Linked DNA regions of Homo sapiens: region 1 is linked to region 2. Evidence: promoter capture Hi-C in human tissues and cell types (Jung and others, 2019). All regions are on one chromosome and are shown on one strand. Each heading gives the region's core, a stretch centred on a gene start or on the middle of the fragment in contact. The rest is flanking DNA. Distances are from core to core; before and after follow the strand shown. Region 1 has its middle 34 kb from the start of KIF13A. Region 2 holds the start of NHLRC1 (NHL repeat containing E3 ubiquitin protein ligase 1).

What was found. The method cuts DNA at HindIII sites, captures the fragments that hold promoters and counts their contacts. A contact is called where the count stands out against the background at its distance.
Region 1: a fragment that was not itself captured here is called in contact with the fragment with the promoter of NHLRC1 in region 2 in 3 of the 25 tissues and cell types used here (IMR-90 fibroblasts, aorta and small bowel).

What each region holds. Positions count from the first base shown.
Region 1 is chr6:18,018,100-18,025,002 of GRCh38, reverse strand. No RefSeq gene overlaps it. Among named protein-coding and RNA genes, the nearest start is that of KIF13A, 34 kb to the right of the region's middle. RefSeq lists an enhancer at 1,790-2,743. The HindIII fragment of the contact is 4,966 bases long and covers 856-5,821 here.
Region 2 is chr6:18,121,427-18,128,497 of GRCh38, reverse strand. It overlaps NHLRC1 (NHL repeat containing E3 ubiquitin protein ligase 1), which reads left to right and starts at 5,821. Exons shown (of 1, transcript NM_198586.3): 1 at 5,821-7,071. The coding sequence starts at 5,892. It overlaps TPMT (thiopurine S-methyltransferase), which reads left to right. Exons shown (of 9, transcript NM_000367.5): 9 at 1-187. The HindIII fragment of the contact is 9,942 bases long and covers 1-6,862 here.

The DNA of each region.
Region 1 (6,903 bases), core at 2,089-4,588, 100 kb after region 2:
AAAATGAGTGCTGAGAACCACAGACAATCTCAGGGTGTAAAGAAGCAAGGTATTGCTGAAGGCAGGGCTGTAAAAGGGCTCAAAATTGGCATAATCATTGAAAATCTATTTAAAAGGCAATGAGACCCTCCCCGGGTCCCCTTGCTCACCCCTGGAAGGTAGGCAAGTCGTCTTCTCCTCACTGTCCCCAGAAATTTATTCTCTAAAGAAATCTGGCCAGGGGCAGTGGCTCACACCTGTAATCCCAGAACTTTGGGAGGCTGAGGCAGGCAGATCACGAGGTCAGGAGATCGAGACCATCCTGGTTAATATGGTGAAACCCCGTCTCTACTAAAAATACAAAAAATTAGCTGGGCGTGGTGGCATGTGCCTGTAGTCCCAGCTACTTGGGAGGCTGAGACAGAATTGCTTGAACCCGGGAGGTAGAGGTTGCAGTAAGCTGAGATCACGCCACTGCACTCTAGCCTAGGCAACAGAGCGAGACTGTCTCAAAAAAAAAAAAAAAATCTGACCAGAACTTCTCTAGGTAAGAACATTGGTACATTCCAAGGGAGATACTGTTAAGTGAATATCTACACGCAGCATCGTGAGACCCTGCATAAATCTCTTTCCTTGTCTTTCTGCCAGAAAGTTGGCAGTCAGGCTCCTATTCTTTAGGAAGAAAATTGGAGAGATCTTCTCTATAGAAAATAATCCCAGAAAATAAAATTTCTACAAGCTGACATTTGTGTGTCATTCTGGTGTGAAAACCCTTGGCACATGATCACCCTGTTCTGAGGGCCACAGGTTGAAAAGCAGCACACACACACACCCCACCACTTCCAATCAGCCCTTCACCGCTCTACCTGCCATCAAGTGAAAATGATGTAGTCAAGACTGGCCTTGAGCGGTCATAAAAGCAGCTATAATTTGCATGACTTCCACACCACCTACTCCTGCTGCATGGCTGCCTTTCCTCAACCGATACCTATGGCCTCCAGCGTTCCTAATAGGTAATGGACTGGGGAAAAATAATTCAAGTATAGTTTTATTTTCTCTGGGTTATTTTGTTTGTTCCCTTCCCCACTCTCTTCTATGACCACTCCTGAGTGGTACCCAAAATGTTGCAGCTATTCAGCTGGTGCCAGCAAATCAGCATATTGTATAAAGGAATTTGCAAACCATACTTGAATTATTTTTCCTCAATCCTTAGGAGGCCGAGGAGGGCGGATCACTTGAAGTCAGGAGTTCAAAACCAGCCTGGCTACGTGGTGAAACCATCTCTACTGAAAACACAAAAATTAGCCAGGCTTGATGGGGTGCACCTGTAGTCCCAGCTATTCTGAGGGAAGAGGATCGCTTGAGCCCAGAAGGTGGAGGCTTCAGTGAACTGAGACTGCGCCACTGCACTTCAGACTGGCTAACAGCACGAGACCCTGTCTCAAAAAATAAAGCTGTTATTTTCCTTCCTTTTGCCTTTTGAATTCTGCTCACCATAAAATTAAGCCAAATACTTTTTTGAGGGGGCAGCAAAAACTTGTCAGATTTACGAAATTCATTAACAGCAGCATTCTCAAAGGAAAGGTTTGGAGGCCTGCCATACCTTAGGCTTGATCAAAGCAGATGAAAACCTCAGCCCAGTAATGTTCTTAAATTCATAGCTCAATTGGATTATACATAAAGGTGTCATTCTTCGGAAAGGCTATTTTTCAAACCCTCTAATGAAAAAGCTAGGGAATATTGCTATCAATTCATCCTTTCCTCTTCAAGCAAAGAGCATTCCTCTGCTTTAAACAGATGGGGCTCTGTGTGACAAACAGCAGTGTTCCAGGGAGCAGCGATGGCACTGACATCTTGTACCCAGTGTTTATAAGCTGGGTTGTCCCTCTGTTTTCATTTCCTTTGACTAGACTAGAGCAGTGTTTAAGATTCAGACAATGGAACGGCAGGGTGAGTCCCAGTCATCCTCACATTCCAGCCATTCTTTATGATAATGAGCAGGGTGAGCGCCTTCGAGGAAGGATTCCAGAGAAGGTAGGAGGAGCGGAGGAGGAAAGAACAGCAAAACCTTTCTAGCCCAGCAATGTCTTCGTGCTCACTGTATTACTAGCTCAGGCACTGAAGCTGCAGTTAATTGCTATTCCCAGGGGATTCAGCTGGTTTTTTTGTTTTGTTTTGTTTTTTTGTTTTTTTTCCCTCCATTTACAGAGGCAGCTATAACAAAGACCATGTGAGTGCATGCGCACACACACACCACTGTTCCTGTGTTCCCAACTGATTGCTGACCGGCTTTCGTGAAGCCCTCACCTTCCCCATCATTATCACAAAAAATACCAGTTATCACCGAATGAAAATCATCTGTCTCTTAAGGAACAGACAGGGTGTTTGCTGTTCTAATGACTTCACCTGCACTGTATGGAGCTTGGAATATGATTAATGTTGCATCAGTGTCCCCTTTGGCAAGCTCTTGCAGACAAGGGCAAACTGCCACAGCTGTCTTCCAAAGATGGTCTCTACTAGATGACAGTAAGTGGGAAAAAGCAAATTCATTTTAGAGCAAAGGGAAAAGTTTACACTTCTAAACCTGCAATTTGTTCCTATGATGTTGAAAACTCTTCGTAGGTATTGTGGGTGGATTCGAAACCAATCACATTTGCATATTTCTGCATGTAAACATCTTTGAGTGCGTTTTTCCTTTCTGCCTGACACCTTATACAAAAAAATGCCACTTAATAATGACTATTTTCCAGATCCTTATTAAATGTACATGATCTTCAAGCACTCAGTCCTCAACAAACGTTTATTAAACTCCTATCACTTGTCAGCCAGGTTCTGAATGCTGGGCTTGGGGGACTCTTGCCCTCACGGAGCTTCCAGTCTGGTTACTTACCACGCCCAATTAGTACGGGATCCAAATTGCATGAGGTCTGGAGTTTATACACTCGGGGTGCTCATTAAGAAACTTAAGTTTACTGTGCCAAGTATTACTTAGCGTACAGAATTTGCAAAAAGCTATAAAAAAGGCACATCTAAATGAAGGACCTGAGGCTTAAGCTTCAAATGTTTCACAGTAATTCCTTTGATAGCAACGTAGGTAAGATTTTATCTCAGTTCTACAATTAAACACTGGGGCTGGGTGTGGTACCTTACGCCTGTAATCCCAGCACGTTGGGAGATGGAGACAGGTGGATTACTTGAGACCAGGTGTTTGACACCAGCCTGGGCAACACGGCAAAACCTCATCTCTACAAAAAATACAAAAAAAGTTAGCCAGCCAGGGTGGTGCACACCTGTAGTCCCAGTTACTCAGGAGGCTGGGATGCTAGGCTTATGAGTTCAGTAGGCGAAGATTGCAGTGAGTCATAATTATGCTATTCTACTCCAGCCTAGGCAAGAATAAGGGCCTGTCTCAAAAAGAAAAACTGATGTTGCCAAACGTGTGGTAGCACACACTTGCAGTCTCAGCCATTCAGGAAACTGAGAAATGACAGTGCGCTAACAACCCTCAGCCCTCTCACTCACTCACGGGGCCTTCTAGGCCTCGGCACCCACCCTGGCCCTCCTTGAGTCGCTTTTCAGCTCGCTGCTGCACGGTGGGAGCTCTTCTGGAATAACTGAGGCCCAAGCCGACTCCCTCAGCTTGCAGGCACGTATGGAGAGGCGCAGGCAAGAATCAGGCCTGCAGCAGCCCTTGCAAACCAGCTCGAGTTCCGGGTGTGCAGGCCTGGGCTCTGCCACCCCGCACTCCCGGAGAGTTAACAAACACTGCTGGCCCTCAACAGAAAATTTACACTCACACCAGTAGCTACAAAGGACGCAGAGTTCCCCAACGGCCACAATCAGGTTTTTGGTCTGACTTACAAAAATGAAACTGCAGACCCTCACAGTGAGCATTACAGTTGTAGAAAGTAGTGTCTCTGAAGTTTTTTCTTTCTGGCGGGTTTACTATCTTGCTGGCTCAGGAGAGAAATTACAGACCTTAGCAGTGAATATTACAGCTCTCAAACCAACACATCAGCACTTACTTATTTCTCTTGGCGGATTCACACTTTTATCACTAACTAAAAACATTAAAGCTACAGATCTTCGTGGCATTACAATCCATAAAACCACAGCAAACAAAACTCAAACATCCAAAGCACTTAATCCTACACATACCAAGATACTAAACGTTTTCATTATTTACTACTACTAGTTCTAGCAGCCTGCTTTTATTCTCTTACCTGGCCCCACCCACATCCTGCTGATTGGTCCATTTTACAGAGCGCCAATTGGTCTGTTTTACAGAGAGCTGATTGGTCCGTTTTGACAGGGTGCTGATTGGTGTGTTTACAATTCCTGAGCTAGACACAAAAGTTTTCCACATCCCCACTAGATTAGCTAGATACAGAGTGTCCATTGGTGTATTTACAAACCCTGAGCTAGACACAGGGTGCTGATTGGTGTGTTTACAAACCTTGCGCTAGACACAGAATGCTGATTGGTGTATTTACAATCCCTTAGCTAGACATAAAGGTTTTTTCTAAGCCCCCACTAGACTCAGTGAGCCCAGCTAGTCTCACCTAGTGGATCTCTTATCAGGGCTGCAGGTGGAGCTGCCTGTCAACCCCGCGCCGGACGCCTACACTTCTCAGTGTTTGGGCGTTTGATGGGACTGGGCGCCGTGAAGCATAGGGGCGGCGCCCGTCGGAGAAGCTTAGGCCGCGCAGGAGCCCACCGCCAGGGGTGGACTATATGGCGGGCTGCAGGTCCCGAGCACTGTCCTGCGGCGAGGCAGCTAACGCTTGGCAAAAAATCGAGCGCAGCACTAGTGGGCCAGCACTGCTGGGGGACCCGGCGCACACTCCGCAGCTGTTGGTCCGGGTGCTAAGCCCCTCTGCCCGGGGCCGGCAGAGCCGGCCAGGCCGCTCCAACTGCGGGGCCTGCCAAACCCACGCGGAACTCTAGTTGGCCCGCAAGCGCCGCGCGCAGCCCTGGTTCCCGCCCATGCGTCCCCCTCTACACCTCCTTTGAAGCCAAGGGAGCCGGCTCCCGCCTCGGCCAGCCCAGAGAAGGGCTTCTCCAGCGCTACCAGAATGGCGCTGAGGCAGAGGAGGCACGGAGAGCAAGGGCTGAGAAAGCTGCCAGCACGCTGTCACCGCTCAGCAGTGCCGGCCCGCCGGCGCTGCCTCGAATTTTGGCCGGGCCTCAACCGCCTCCCTGCGGGGCAGGGCTCGGGACCTGCAGCCTGCCATGTCCGAGCCTCCCCCCCGCCGCCGTGGGCTCCTGCGCCTTCGATCCTCCCCGACAATCGCCGCCCTCTGCTCCATAGCGCCCGGTCCTATCGACCGCCCAAGGGCTGAGGAGTGTGGGCACACTGCGCGGGACTGCCGGGCAGCTGCACCTGCGGCCCCGGTGCGGGATCCAGTAGTTGAAGCCAGCTGGGGTCCTGAGGCTGGTGGGGAGTTGGAGAATCTTTGTCTAGCTAAGGGATTGTAAATACACTAATTAGCATTCTGTATCTAGCTCAATGTTTGTAAACACACCAATCAGCACTCTGTATCTAGCTCAAGGTTTGTAAACACACCAATCGGCACCCTGTGTCTAGCTCAAGGTTTGTAAATGCACCAATCAGTGCTCTGTGGGGACTTGGAGAATTTTTGTGTCTAGCTCAGAGATTGTAAACACACTAATCAGCACCCTGTCAAAACGGGCTAATCAGCGCTCTGTAAAACAGACCAATCAGCTCTCTATAAAGTGGACCAATCAGCAGAATGTGGGTGGGGCCAGATAAGAGAATAAAAGCAGGCTGCCCAAACTAGCTGTGGTAACTTGTCGAGGTTTGTTCTCCCTTGTGGGTGTTTTTTAAATTTTTTTTTTTTTTTTGGTTCTTTATAGTAAGTCTTGCTGCTGTTCATTGTTTGGGTCAGCCTTGTGTGTATGGGTTGTAATACTCGCCGTGAAGGTCTGCATTTTCACTCCTGAGCTGGTGAAACTGGGAACCCACTAATAGAAAACAATTCTGAACACGTGATGAACATCAGAAAAAAATAAAGGAACGCCCAGACATACTGCTTTTAGTGAACCGTAACACTCACTGTGAGGGTCTGTGGCTTCATTCTTTAAGTCAGACCAAGAACCCACCAATTCTGGATGTAGAAGGATCTACTGGATTCCAGGAGTGCAAATCTAGTTTGAGCAATACAGCAAGGTTGTGTGTCTGAAATAAACGAATAAATAAATGGGTGTTTAAAAACCTGATGTTTTCTTAGCAAATGGCTGATTAGCGGCCAATAAGACTGAAGTAAGCATTCTTTTGTTTGTCAAACCAAAGAAGTGTAAATGATGACCAGAGGGCGTCCAGTTGGAAATAGCTTTTTCTCTAACCAGGAGACAGCTCAGATAATGTTGAAAAACAGCAGGCTGCTCAGATCTCTGTTTCCATCTAAACCAGGTGACAATTTGCCCCTCGAAGCATTTACTATAATTTTAGGCCTTGTTTTTCTTGGGGTTTAAGGTCATTGCAATTTGTATATTTCTGAGTTTCACTGTAGTTAGGTCGGGTTTAAAATTCCTATTTTGCTTTTTTTTTTTGGTGACTCACCAGCCAAATAAGGAGAGTGCATGGAGCAGGTTACCATTTCCCAAACTGTTCTGCATAGCATTAGTTCTAAAGGATGTGCACCACTGTTACACAAAGATATATGTGGACATACTGCATAGGAAATGTTGGATGAATGAAAGTTTAAACTTTCAGGCTTGGCGCCAAGGCTTACACCTGTAATCCCAACACTCTTGAGAGGCCCAGGCAGGCAGATCGCCTGAGGTCAGGAGTTCGAGACCAGCCTGGCTAACATGGTGAAACTGTCTCTACATAAAATACAAAAATTAGCCAGGCACGGTGGCAGGGGCCTCTAATCCCAACTACTAGGAAGGCTGAGGCAT
Region 2 (7,071 bases), core at 4,572-7,071:
AGTCCTTTCCGCTTGCAGTTGTGCCCAAAGAATCTTAAATACAAATGAGATATCCTTAGGTAGTTGATCATTTATGTAATATGTGTCTTCACTGGGGAATACTGACTTCCTAAAATCTCAAGATGGAAGATATACCACATGTAAATTATTTTAGAGCAATTAAATTGTTTTCAGGATTTTCCAAAAATGCTTCTTGTTTCATTTTATTATTTAAGTAACAGATTATCTGAGCCTCTGTGCCCTGCACACAGTGGTTTATAAATGCCTTGCCCTGCCTATGAAGCAGGCATGAATGCTCCAGTATAGACAGTGTTATCACTAGCAGACAGGACAAAGTAAGAAAGGTACGTAATAATTAATCTATTTGGGTGAATGTGGAAAGAAAAATACAAAGAAATATAACCAAAGCTTAAACAGCTATCACTGGGAAGTCAGAGATTTGGCTCCATAAAGAATGGTTTAGGGACCACAGAAGGTGGCCCAAAAGATGTACCTATGAGAGAGCTCCCAGCTGACGGGATTCATTGGCAGCATGAAGTGACAAATACAAATCTAAGCCATGGAGATATTAGTTCAAGCAATTTACCAAGTCGCAACTGTAGTACATACCTGTCATTGTTTTATTTTAATACAAGGGAGCAATTTCAATGTGTGTTTGTGTATACATGTATATGTTTATGTCGCACCTACTCCTTATTTTTTTTTTTTATTTTGAGACAGGGTCTCACTCTGTCGCCCAGGCTGGAGTACGGTGGTGTGATTATAGCTCACTGCGGCCTCAATTTCCTAGGCTTAAGCAATCCTTCTGCCTCAGCCTCCTGAGTAGACAGGACTGCAGGTGTGTGCCACCACACCCAGCTAATTTTTTTTTTTATTTTTAGTAGAGACAAGGTCTCACTATGTTGCCCAGCACGATCTCAAACTCCTGGCCTCAAGTGATCCCCCCACCTCAGCCTCCCAAAGAGCTGCTCAGCCTACACCTACTCTTTCTGAAAGGTGTTTCAGAGAAAGATTTCTACTGAGTGCTTTTTAAAAAATCAGTTATTGGCCGGGCACAGTGGCTCATGCCTGTAACCCCAGCACTCTGGGAGGCCGAGGTGGGCGGATCACCTGAGGTCGGGCATTCGAGACCAGCCTGGCCAACACGGTGAAACCCTGTCTTTACTAAAAATACAAAAAATTAGCCGGGCATGGTTGGCACATGTCTGTAATCCCAGCTACTCGGGAGGCTGAGTCAGGAGAATTGCTTGAACCCAGGAGGTGGAGGTTGTGGTGAGCCGAGATCAAGCCATTGCACTCCAGCCTGGGCAACGAGCAAAACTGTCTCAAAACAAAAACAACAACAACAAAATTAAAATTAAAAATTATCATCTTTAATCCCTACAGCTCTGACTTTCCAATCACTTCTTATGTGATGTGCTTTTTGCCTTATAAAACATTATATGACAAATTCACCAGTGGCTGGTGGGAATTGGACAGAATTCTATTTATGTGCCTTAAGCATAGTCATTCCGATTTGCAGAAAATAGTCATGTCCCAGATTTATTACTTATGTGTAGCTGTAATTTGTGAGCTGAAAATATGCTTGAAAATCTGTGATTCCTGAACAGTGGGTATTAATAGAAATTTATTTCACTATTGGTGTTAACTTTCGACAACAGGAGGATAATCGAGGCAGATATTTAGAAATGAAATATATCATAAAATATTAAGTTATTTATATTTAAATATGACAAATAATCCTTTATGCATTGAAAATTTGGGAAGTCTAAAAAGAAAAAGAAAAGCAATCAAGTCCTATCACTGGAGATAATTACTGCTATGATGGTGATGTATTTTCTTCTCATCTTTTTTGTCTGCTCATACATGTGAATGTTTTCACAAGGTTGTTGTGATCACATTACGATACAGTATTGTATCTCCACTATCTTTCTTTCTATTTCATTCACCCTTCCTGGAGTTGAGGCAGGAGAATAGGGTCTTGAGGCAGGGAACCTAAGGCTGATTCATGCTGACTTCCTAGAACTAAATTGAAAGGAAAACCTCAACTTTCCATGCCTAAGTAACAAAAGGACCAGAGGCTACTCCCTTTGTAACCTCCACCACCCCACCGCCCCTAGCCTTTTCTGCGTGGCAGAAACATCTGCAACCAATCAAACGTTTGCATAGGAGTGTAACTTTTGTAACTTCACTTCGGCCTCTCATTGGTTGCAGCAAGCAAAAGCAACCAATCAGACTGATTGCGGGCCACTACTTTATTTGCATGGGATGAATACCAAGTGGCCAGTGGGAAACCTCTAGGCAGTATTTGGACCCCAGAAGATTCTGTAACCAGGGCCCTTGAGCCACTGCTCAGCCAGGTCCCACCCTGTGGAGCACTTTCATTTTCAATAAATCTCTGCTTTTGTTACTTCATTCTTTCTCTGCTTTGCTGTGCATTTTGTCCAATTCTTTGTTCAAAAAGCCAAGAACCTGGACAACTTGTAGTCAAACCTTCTACTGGTAACAGTGTCACTAAATATTTTTCAAAAGCAAGATTTTTAAATAGCTGTATAATGTTGTAATGTGGCAGTACAATTATTATTTAGTCTTTCTCCTGCTATTAGAGTCAGCATTCATTCAGCAATTTAAGTACTATTGGGTGTGCTAGCAGATAAAGGTTTATTGATTATTGAAGATAATCCTTTTCTCAGGCATCACAGGTTGTAGGGGTAGGGACTGAACATTGAACTTCATATGGTATGGCTGTCTTAGGGGTACAGGCAGGGAGCTGTCAGCTTATAACTGGTCATTTAAACCACGAGGAAGTGAAGATGGCATTGCTCAGGGAAACAGGTAGGAAGCTAAGAGAAAAAGACTGAAGGTGGCACCCTGAGGAACACTCAATTGCATTGAACTTGAGATGCACTCAAATCTCTAGATCCCCATTTCCAAACATACATCTCCACTCATTTTTGTATGGACTTACTCAAAAAATTCAAAAACAGCCATTCTTCCTCTTGCCACCACATCCCTCACCCCTGAGATGCCAAGAACATGGAGCTTAAAAATTAGAGTGGTGGTCAGAGACGCCCCTGGGAGGAGGGCAAGGCTGGAAGCAAAGCCCATTCTGTGTGGCTTGTTCATCTTCCTTTCCCTTACATCATTGTCAGGTAGTCTGAGTTGTAATTGGATCATTAAACTTGTTCTGGGATTCCTTCTAAACTGCATGTGTCTGGCACATTTGCCCCACCTGCACAACCAGGAGCCCACCTGTCTAAGCACTGACTCCCCCTAACTCATGCTCCCCCTGTGCTCTCTTCTCTGCTGGAACCATCCTGAGCTGGGTCCCCACTCTCCTTCCACTATAGTATGGTACTTTTTCATAGGGCAGCCATTGACCACTTTGGAAACTAGACGTTCTGCTCTTCAAGCCCTTTGCCCCCACAACTCTCAGGGCTTGTTCTAGGTGGAAGCAGGAAAAGATGGGCATGCTAGTCCAGGACCCTCTATAGAAGGAATATCGGAGGGAAGCACAGGGTAAATCCATGGAGGCCCAGCCATGGAGGAGGAAATGATAGTCATAGGAAATGCCAAATGTCAGAGTGAGATTCAAGACATATTTGTTATTAATCAATTATGCAATGGTGTGATTGCATAAATAATGTGATTTTAGTTGGTTGTTTATTTGGGATGGAAATGTAGTCAGAAATTATTAAGTTGGTTATTGTGTCCCAGTACGCAATCTTTGAGTCAAATGACATTTGATTAGAAAATGTTCTTTCTTGTCTTACATTAAAGCTCTTTCCAGGGGCCTCAACAGGGGATAAAATATTGTGTTTTCTCAGAAATCTAGCAAATCAGAAGGTGAATGTTCATGATTATGATCTCTAAAGGAAAAGAAATTCTCTAATACAAGGTTTTGTTAAGCACAATGTTCACATAAGACATTTGAGGGAGAACCCCTTAAAAATAAGAGTTTAGGGCCAGGCACGGTGGCTCATGCCTGTAATCCTAGCACTTTGGGAGGCTGACGCGAAAGGTCAGAAGTTTGAGACCAGCCTGGCCAACATGGTGAAACCTCATCTCTACTAAAAATACAAAACTTAGCCAGGCATGGTCACGGGTGCCTGTAATCCCAGCTACTCAGGAGGCTGAGGTGGGAGAACCGCCTGAACCCAGGAGGTGGAGGCTGCAGTGAGCCGAGATCGCGCCACTGCACTCCAGCCTGGTGACAGAGCAAGACTCTGTCTCAAAAAGAAAAAAAAAAAAAAGAAAGAAAAAGAAAAATGAGAGATTATAATACCACAATGGATTCTTCACACAGATTATGCTATCCCTTGTTTGAAGATTTTCCAACATATGGCAAATTCTCTTTGTTTTTGGTCTTAACTGAGATTGGAAAAACTGAACTTAGTGTCATTTGAGGGAATTATTATAATGCAGTGTTTCTCAAACTTGGCTGTACATTATAATCACCTGGGGAGCTTTTATAAATCCCAGCTGTCCAGACCACACCATGGGCCAATTAAACTTTTCGGGTGCGACCCAGGTGTTTACCATGTGCAAAGAAGTTTGAAAATGACTAAAATAGGTAACTCTGAAGTCAAACTGCCTGGCTTCAAATTCCAGGCCAGCCACTTCCTAGCCATGTGACCCTGGGCAAGATATTTGATTTCTATGAATTCTATCAGAAAAAAAGACAATAAAAATAACATATTTTTGTAGGATTGCTATGAGGTTTAAACAAGATAATCTATGTAAATTATTTATTAATTTGCTGCAAAAGTAATCACGGTTTTGCCATTAAAAGTGATGGCAAACACTGCGAATCCTTTTCACCAACCTAACACAATGGGGCAGGCATATGTGAATTCCATAGGCTGGGCACAGTGGCTCACACCAGCACTTTGGGAGGCCAAGGGGTGGGGAGGAATGTGAACAATTTTCACAAGTTCAAGACCAGCCTAGGCAACATAGTGAGACCTCCTCTCTACAAAAAAATTAAAAAATTAGCCTAGTGTGATGGTGCATGCCTGTAGTCCCAGCTACTGAAGTGGGAGGATTGCTTGAGCCTGGGAGATGGAGGCTGCAGTGAGCTGTGATCGTGCCCCTGCACTCCAGCCTGGGTGACAGAGTGAGACTTTGTCTTAAAAAACAAAAAAATGAAGTTCTATGGTAATTATTATTAACTAACAGCTTTCTTATTTCATATTAATTACTCTGCAAGACACTTCCAGCATGGTTGCCCCATCTGACACTCATTCACCTCGTTGATTTTTTTTTGTTGTTGTTGTTGTTCTATAACATTCATTCATGCACAAATTCATTTTACAAGTATGTATTCATCTAACATTGACTTAACTATGAGTATGACAGAAGACACAAAAGAAATGTACACATCTGCCTCACCTCCCTTGGAGTTTATCTTCTCTAGTGTGTTCGTGTTTTCCGGTTCAGATCATAAGCATCATGAGCTAAGGGACCATGTTTTATGCCCGGACAGCCGTAGCACCCGGCGCTGCGGATTGGAGACACTGCTAGGCACCCGGGCTGGAAGATTGGGTTCTAGTTCTTGTTTTGCCGCTTACAGGCTGGGTGACAGGGAGCAATCCTGTTGTCCTCAATAGGTGTGTTTCCTCATCTGAAAGTGTACACAATCCATCCATGACTGCTGTGACGATTACAGGTCTACACAACGCGCATGTGGATTTGTCTTGCAAACGTCCACCATCAGGCCCTCAGGAAACAGTGCCGCGCGTGCCCACCAAGGGGCAGCAGATCGCAGTGCAGAGGCCCGCGGCGCTCGACGTCAGGGCGCACGTCCCACCCCGTGACCATGACTGTGACCGTGACCGAGAGCGTCGCTGGGGCACGGCCAGGCGGCGCGGCGGGAGTGCACAGGACGCGCCATGGCGGCCGAAGCCTCGGAGAGCGGGCCAGCGCTGCATGAGCTCATGCGCGAGGCGGAGATCAGCCTGCTCGAGTGCAAGGTGTGCTTTGAGAAGTTTGGCCACCGGCAGCAGCGGCGCCCGCGCAACCTGTCCTGCGGCCACGTGGTCTGCCTGGCCTGCGTGGCCGCCCTGGCGCACCCGCGCACTCTGGCCCTCGAGTGCCCATTCTGCAGGCGAGCTTGCCGGGGCTGCGACACCAGCGACTGCCTGCCGGTGCTGCACCTCATAGAGCTCCTGGGCTCAGCGCTTCGCCAGTCCCCGGCCGCCCATCGCGCCGCCCCCAGCGCCCCCGGAGCCCTCACCTGCCACCACACCTTCGGCGGCTGGGGGACCCTGGTCAACCCCACCGGACTGGCGCTTTGTCCCAAGACGGGGCGTGTCGTGGTGGTGCACGACGGCAGGAGGCGTGTCAAGATTTTTGACTCAGGGGGAGGATGCGCGCATCAGTTTGGAGAGAAGGGGGACGCTGCCCAAGACATTAGGTACCCTGTGGATGTCACCATCACCAACGACTGCCATGTGGTTGTCACTGACGCCGGCGATCGCTCCATCAAAGTGTTTGATTTTTTTGGCCAGATCAAGCTTGTCATTGGAGGCCAATTCTCCTTACCTTGGGGTGTGGAGACCACCCCTCAGAATGGGATTGTGGTAACTGATGCGGAGGCAGGGTCCCTGCACCTCCTGGACGTCGACTTCGCGGAAGGGGTCCTTCGGAGAACTGAAAGGTTGCAAGCTCATCTGTGCAATCCCCGAGGGGTGGCAGTGTCTTGGCTCACCGGGGCCATTGCGGTCCTGGAGCACCCCCTGGCCCTGGGGACTGGGGTTTGCAGCACCAGGGTGAAAGTGTTTAGCTCAAGTATGCAGCTTGTCGGCCAAGTGGATACCTTTGGGCTGAGCCTCTACTTTCCCTCCAAAATAACTGCCTCCGCTGTGACCTTTGATCACCAGGGAAATGTGATTGTTGCAGATACATCTGGTCCAGCTATCCTTTGCTTAGGAAAACCTGAGGAGTTTCCAGTACCGAAGCCCATGGTCACTCATGGTCTTTCGCATCCTGTGGCTCTTACCTTCACCAAGGAGAATTCTCTTCTTGTGCTGGACACAGCATCTCATTCTATAAAAGTCTATAAAGTTGACT